Linked DNA regions of Homo sapiens: region 2 is linked to region 1. Evidence: promoter capture Hi-C in 16 types of primary human blood cells and fetal thymus (Javierre and others, 2016). All regions are on one chromosome and are shown on one strand. The core of a region is centred on a gene start or on the middle of the fragment in contact, and the rest is flanking DNA. Distances in the headings are between cores, read along the strand shown.

What was found. Contacts are between HindIII fragments. The CHiCAGO score rates a contact against its expected background, and 5 or more counts as called.
Region 2: a contact is called between a fragment that was not itself captured here and the fragment with the promoter of DNAH2 in region 1, in 1 of 17 cell types (endothelial precursors). The highest score is 5.1, in endothelial precursors.

What each region holds. Positions count from the first base shown.
Region 1 is chr17:7,716,015-7,719,650 of GRCh38, forward strand. It overlaps DNAH2 (dynein axonemal heavy chain 2), which reads left to right and starts at 1,730. Exons shown (of 86, transcript NM_020877.5): 1 at 1,730-2,785. The HindIII fragment of the contact is 13,987 bases long and covers 1-3,636 here.
Region 2 is chr17:7,934,013-7,937,648 of GRCh38, forward strand. It overlaps CNTROB (centrobin, centriole duplication and spindle assembly protein), which reads left to right. Exons shown (of 19, transcript NM_053051.5): 2 at 126-210; 3 at 453-534; 4 at 977-1,133; 5 at 2,354-2,470; 6 at 2,689-2,805; 7 at 3,152-3,250. Among named protein-coding and RNA genes, the nearest start is that of CNTROB, 3.6 kb to the left of the region's middle. The HindIII fragment of the contact is 1,312 bases long and covers 937-2,248 here.

The sequences.
Region 1 (3,636 bases), core at 480-2,979:
ACCCTGGCTGTTTCTCTAGCCCCGAAGAGCCCCTGGGGAAAAGACCCCCATCATAGCTAGCTGTGGTTGCCCCGCCTTCGTCCCTTCCCCCTACCTCCACCTCTGTTGATGAGCTTCAGCAGCGTTTAATCGGATTGAGCAGTAATTAGCAAAGCGAGATGTTTGATTACCTATTTAGCATAATGTGGGGGGCTGGGATCCGTAGGCACAGCCACAGTTGGGGAGGGGGGTTTAAGAAAAGAAATGGGGTCTGTGCAAAGTTCCTTTCCCCGAGGGACCCATGAACCTTGCCCCTGAGGCTCCCCACCCCACGCCTCCAGCAAATTTTCACTCCTTTGGGACTTTTCCCTAGGGGTTCTGGCCAACCACATCACCTCTGTCTGCCACCCATGGCCTATCTGGCTAGAGGAACACCTCCACGTTCCATCTTAGCTGTGCTAGCTGTGCAGCTGGTTTTGGGGTGGGCGGTACTCCTCTCCTTCCATTCCTGCTGTCAGCAACAGGAGTCTGGCTGGGCAGGAGGAATTATTGGGGGTCGGGGGGAGGGAAAGGGTTGACACTTCTGGGAATAAAGATACGGTAGGTGGGAGGGTGAGGTCAGCGCTGGGATAGGGTGTGGTTAATCCACTTGCTCTTCAGGAGTACCAGGGACTGCCACTCCTGGTAGTGCCAGGCTGGCATAATGAGATCTGTTAGGTGTGAACGCCAAACAGAAAATGGGGGAACTGAGGTGCCAGCTTCTCTTCTCCTCATCCAGCAAAGAAAATGTCATAAATTTCGCTCCTCATGGAAATGTAATCAGTGGGCTCGCTGCTGGCTTTGTCTTAATTAGGCACTATTGATGGAAACAGGGAGGGCGCCTTCCCATCCCCCCACTCGGCTTCCTCCCTGTATTTCCCAGGTCTCCCCAAAGCTCCTCCCGGCACCAGGTACAGCGGTCTTCCAGGCGCCTTCTAGCAGCCCCGGCCCGCAGCGCCCCCTGGCACCCTCGGAGATGTACCCCGGCCCTCATAGCCCTCCCCTCTCGCCTCCTCTCTCACGACGCAGCCTTTGTTCCTATGGAGAGCGAAGCCCCTCCCAGGCCCGGTCACCTTCCCCAGGGAGTCCCCGCCTCTCATCCCCCCCAAAAACCAGCGATGCCTTCGAAAGCCAATCCTCAGATTCCCAAAACTCCAGTTCCCGTCTTCCCTCCCTTTCCCCGCCCCGCGCCGCCCCCCCGCAATCCTAGACCCCAATCCGAACTAAGAAGGGGGAAGGAGCAGGAGGGCAAGGGTGCTCCAGGCCCGGTTTTTCCCCCGGATCCAGCTGCACCCACGGCTGCCTGGAAATCCTGGAACGCCTTCTACATCGCGAATATCCCTCGCCGGCCTGGCGCCCGGCGCCATCTGCTGGACCCGTTCCGGCTGGGGCGCACAGACCTGGGCGCGGGGTCGGGCGATTGGGTTCTCCCTGCCTTTTCAATGTCCTGCGGGGCGGTGGCTCACTGTCTCTCGCCCCAGCCCTTCCAGCTGGGTCCTGACACCAGGCCCCCCGCACCCTTCGGCTCGCCAGATGTGGCTACTTTCCTTTAGTCCCGGAGCCTTCAAGCCCTGGGTCCCTGAGGGGTAGACCTGGGCGGGGTGGGGCCGCGAAGCAGGGATCCAGGGCGCCTGCGCGGAGGAGGCGGGCTCCGAGGGGCCGCACACCGGCCACTCGCCCCTCCCTGCCCGGGGTTGCCATGGGGACGCGTGCAGACGCCGGCCCGAGAGGGCTGCGAGGGGCAACTTCTTAGAGTGGCCCATCGGTCGGTCTAGGGAGGGGAGGGTCAGCGTGGCAAGGTGTGTGTCGGGGGCAGAGGGAAGGAGGGAAGGAGTGCTGGGGAGAAGGGGCAGTAGTGTCGGGGTAGGAAGGGACAGTTGTTGGGGAGAAGAGGCAGTTGTGGAGGGAGAGGGAGCAAGGAATATTTGTGTGGGGGAGGGGGAGGAGAAGGGGCAGTTGTGACAGCTGGGGGGGAAGAGCCATTCTGAGGGGAAATTTGCCTGCTGGTAACCAGTTTAAGGATACCAGCTGCTGGTATAAATACTGCTGGATAAATACTGCTGGATTTATACTGCAGGATAAATACTGCTGGCCCCTGCGGTATTTCCTAGTACTAGAGTGAGCCCCGACTTAGCAGAGCAGTTCCTCCTGGGGCCTGCGGTGTGGGATCGCGTGGTGAACCCCACGGTGCATGCGCCTCAGGCTCTAGTTTGAGGCAGGAAAGCGCAGCTTGATGCTTCTCTGGAGACTGATGGAGGAAGCCTCCTTGCTGTAGTTGGTTTTATTGATTTGCTGGCCTAACAGAACGTTTTTCCTTGGAGCAAAGTACAAATCCTTCAAGTTTGAAATTCATAACCTGAGATCAATGCCTGTGGCAGCCTGTGGGGATGAGGAAGGAGAGCCACAGGTGCCGTTAGGCTGCAGCCTAATGAAAAGAGAGTGCCCAGCGCCTCAGACTTTGCGCCTGGGATTCTGAGCACCTGTCCGAGATCCCCGCTTCCTGCCATCCTACCTTTCTGAGAGAGGCACCACTGTGACCTTCCTCGTGCCCCAATTGCTTTTTCCTCATGACACAATTTGAAATTTATGATTGGATGACTTTTGTCCTTCTTTCTTCCAATCTGTTCTCAGGGCATTTTGAGTCAAATAAATGATCCTGACTGATCTTAACCATTAGCACAGAGTTCCTCAGCCAACTCTGCTAAGAGACCTCAGTACACACAAAACAGTGTTCCTGCCCCTCAGGACTTCAAAGCGATAGACCCAGGTGGCAAATACTGTTTTTCTCTGTTTACAGATGTTGCAGATTTTAGTGGGATTGGGAGGAGCATATTTCCATTTAACTTGGGAGGAAAAGAGGTACATAGGAAAATCATCTTGGTTTGCTTGAATGATTGAACAGTGACAAAGGATGGGGGATGTGCACCCCTTCCTTGATCCTCTCTCACTCACTCATGGTCCTGGAGGGTAGAGTGGATGAGGGTTTGGGCAACCACACTTCAGCTTGATAGATCTTTTCCTGATTATCTTATGTTCTCATACCCCGGGGCAGAGATAGAGGTTCTAAATCCTCATTAGTGGGGTGTCTGGCCATCTTTTTTTTTTTTTTTTTTGAGATAGAGTCTCACTCTGTCAGCCAGGCTGGAGTATAGTAGCATGATCTTGGCTCACTGCAGCCTCTACCTCTCGGGTTCAAGAGATTCTCCTGCCTCAGCCTCCCGAGTAGCTGGAATTACAGGCACGCACCACCACTCCTGGCTAATTTTTTGTATTTTTAGTAGAGACGGGGTTTTGCCATGTTGGCCAGGCTGGTCTCGAACTCCTGACCTCAGGTGATCCACCCGGCTCGGCCTCCCAAAATGCTGGGATTACAAGCATGAGCCACCGCACCCAGCCTGGCCATCATCTTTAACTCCCATTTGTTCCTAGTGCCTTGAGGGACTGACTTTGATTTTTAGCCCAGTGCCCCGAAGACAGTAGGATATCCTAGGGAAAAACAGCAAGGCCTCCCAGGCCCCTGTGGAGTACAGAGCCCTTGTGGTTAATGGAGCAGGGTGTGGGTACCACCAGAAAAGATGATCATATTGAGTTTCAGTCAATTTATGAATTCAAAAGGGA
Region 2 (3,636 bases), core at 343-2,842, 220 kb after region 1:
ATCCCTTATTGGATCCGTTTGGTTTTTCTTGTTTTCCAAAGTGCTGGAGTGAAAATTCTACCCTGGCAATAGGTAGGAGATAGATAACACAGACTGCATCTGATTTCCATGTGGCTTTTTTCCAGGATGGTTCTAAGCATATCTTTGAGATGGAAAGTGTTCGGGGTCAGCTCCAGACCATGCTCCAAACCTCACGTGATACAGCCTATCGTGAGTAAGCCCCTTCCCTAGAACTATGAAGGAGAACCTAGATGTAAGGGGTGGGAGAAAGTGGACAGAGGAAGCAGGCAGGAAAACCTCTGAGCAAGAGATTTCAGGAGAAAAGTCTCCCGTTCTTTGGGAGAGGGGGTGAAGGAGTGAGGGAACTGGAAAGGAAGGCCTTTTCTCTTCAGGTGGCCCCTGTTTTTGTCATTACCTGACTCTGGCTTTGGGGTCCCTCTGGCTGCCTGCAGGGGATCCTCTCATTCCTGGCGCTGGCTCAGAGAGACGGGAAGAGGACTCCTTTGACAGTGATAGCACAGCCACCTTGCTCAAGTGAGTTCTCCTTGTGGTTCTCCTAGCTTGTTTGCTTTCTTGGAAATCCAGGTGTTTTGTTCCTTATTTCTCCCTTTATTGCTTTTGTACCTCTTAAGAACCCAAGAGGCTTATCACTTGCCTTTCAGTTTTCATCTTTTTCTACTGTCTCCTGCCCCCTTTACTCCTTCAGGAACACAGGTATCTGTTGCCTAGTACCTGGCTTTCTCTTAACCTGCAGTCATTCTTCCCCTCTAAAGAGTTAGCTTGTTTCTGCTGAAACCTTTAAGTGAATCACAGACCTGTGTGTTATTTATAGCACTATGGTTATATAGCTTTACGACTTTGGACAAGTCTCTTGCCCTCTCTGGGTCTCAGTTTCCTCATTTGTAGAATATCACAGTTGGACAAGTGGATTCCAAAAGCTTTCCCAGCCCTAACATTCTCTACCTGATTTGCTCAGCACCCGGCCCCTGCAAGACTTGTCTCCATCTAGCTCAGCCCAAGCCCTGGAGGAGCTGTTTCCCCGCTACACCAGCCTTCGGCCAGGGCCTCCACTCAATCCCCCAGATTTTCAGGGGCTGAGAGATGCATTGGATTCAGAGCATACCCGCCGCAAGGTAAGATGCAAACGCTTCCTTTCGAAAGCAGCAAAGATTAGAAAGAGGGGACCCAAGTGTTGAAAAGGGCTGAGGGGGCCTGGCGTGGTGGCTCACGCCTGTAATCACAGCACTTTGGGAGGCTGAGGCAGGCGGATCACGAGGTCAGGAGATCGAGACCATCCTGGCTAACACGGTGAAACCCGTCTCTACTAAAAATAGAAAAAATTAGCCGGGCATGGTGGTGGGTGCCTGTAGTCCCAGCTACTCGGGAGGCTGAGGCAGGAGAATGGCGTGAACCTGGGAGGCGGAGCTTGCAGTGAGCCGAGATCATGCCGCTGCACTCCAGCCTGGGCGACAGAGCGAGACTCCGTCTCAAAAAAAAAAAACTAAAAAAGAAAAGGGCTGAGGGTTAAGAGCCTGAAAGCTGGGACTTAAATGTTTTTCTGAGGAGGGCTTTTTTGACCATTCCATCTAATATGGCACCACCTCCTTTCCAAGTAGTCAGATCGCCTTCTTATTTCTTTCATGTAGCTTATCGTTCTGATATATCTTGTTTTTTTCTCCTCTCTAAAATTTGAGGGTCCGTATCTTGTTTGTCTTAGTACTGGCTGCCTAAGGTCTAGAATATACATAACACAGAAACACTCTGTGTTTGTCGAATGGACACAAACTCTGCTAGCTTGTGCACAGGATTTACAGCTACTGGTGATATACTGAGCTTTATCTCTGTGAGCCTCTGCCTTAGTGTCTGAAGGGGACAGAGAAATAGACAAAGGAGAGGAAAAGTCAAAATCACTGGTTGCCATTTTTGGAAGCCTCTCTTTCTCCATGTTAAACCCCTTGGCATGAATGAAAGGCTTTCCCCTTTATCCTTGCTGTGTTTATTCATTGTGTCCAATGAGCTTCTGAAGGTAGGAGTAACTTTGCACATTTTGCTGTGTGGGCTGCTGCATCTCTGCCAAAAGGTTTATGGGATTTTTACTCAGGAGATCCAGGAAAAGGAGGAGCCTGGAATCTAAGCACTTATCTCCTGAAAAGGTACAGAAACATGTTGGAGATCTTGAGCCTCAAGGTGCTTGCTTCAGAATTTTCCTGATTCTCCCTCTCCAGACCTATTCTGTTCTTGGGACCCAAGCTTCTTGGCTCCAGCCCACTCCCCCACTAGAGGAGCTGGAAAGTTTGGTGCTGTGGTCATACCAAAGATGGGCAACACCCAGACTCCTCACCCTTTTCCCCAGCATTGTGAGCGCCATATTCAGAGCCTGCAGACCCGAGTGTTAGAGCTACAGCAACAATTAGCCGTGGCTGTGGCTGCCGACCGCAAGAAAGATACCATGATTGAACAACTGGACAAGGTACCAGGGTAGCAAAATGTGGGTGGGTCTCTCCATGAAGAGCATTAAGGAATAATAAATAAGTGGGTGGCCAACCAATGTTTCTTGGTACATGCTGAGAGCTGGGCAAGGGGTTGGTTTGCTGACTGTTGGGAGAAGATGGCTGTTGACCCTGCCCCTGTGGGTAGAAAGAGGCAAAAAAGTTATTTTGAAATTTCATCTTACTTGCCCTACCTAAGACCCTGGCCCGTGTGGTGGAGGGCTGGAACCGGCATGAGGCTGAGCGGACAGAGGTTCTCAGGGGACTTCAAGAGGAACACCAGGCAGCAGAGCTCACCAGAAGCAAGCAGCAGGAGGTGAGCGCCCTGGAGCATATGGCATTAGAACCTGAGTCACAGATCTCAAGATGGAAAGGGGCAGAAATAGCTCTGGAATTAGGGTTTCCAACAGATTGACCTCAGTCTTGTAGTGGCTGTCCTGACATTTCTTCTCATCCCTCCTTTCTTCTCCTTTAACCGTTTCTGCTGTCCAACTTGAATCATCAATGTCTTAATTTTTCCCACACCATGTAGTCTTCTATCTGGCCCCTTAGTCATTTAGTTAACTGTGAAGTTTCAAGTTTACATTGTCAATGCTTTATAAAATATAGCACACACAGATTTCCCACAGTTCCTCTGCCCTGTATTCCTCTCTTCCTGAAAGACAGTAACCCGCCTGGAACAAAGCCTTTCTGAGGCCATGGAGGCCCTGAATCGTGAGCAGGAAAGTGCCAGACTGCAGCAACGGGAAAGAGAGACACTGGTGAGAAGATTGGACTGGGTTAATTCCACTGGAAGCTGTTAATTACTTCTAGAGAGCTGTGGGCTATTGGTGGATTGTGGGAGATTATAATTTGAGTTGCACCAGAGCACTGTTTCCCAAAGTGTGTTCCTTAGAACACTAATTCAGCTAGATATTCTATTAAAAAAAAAGGCTCTGCTACCAAGTCGGTTTGAGAAACTCTGCAAATTGTATCATCATTAGAATATTAGTGTCATCTGAAGAATTATTTTAAAATATAGGCTAGGCACGGTGGCTCACCCCTGTAATCCCAGCACTTTGGGAGGCCAAGGCAGGCAGATCATGAGGTCAGGAGTTTGAGACCAGCCTGGCCAGCATGGTGAAACCCCGTCTCTACTAAAAATACA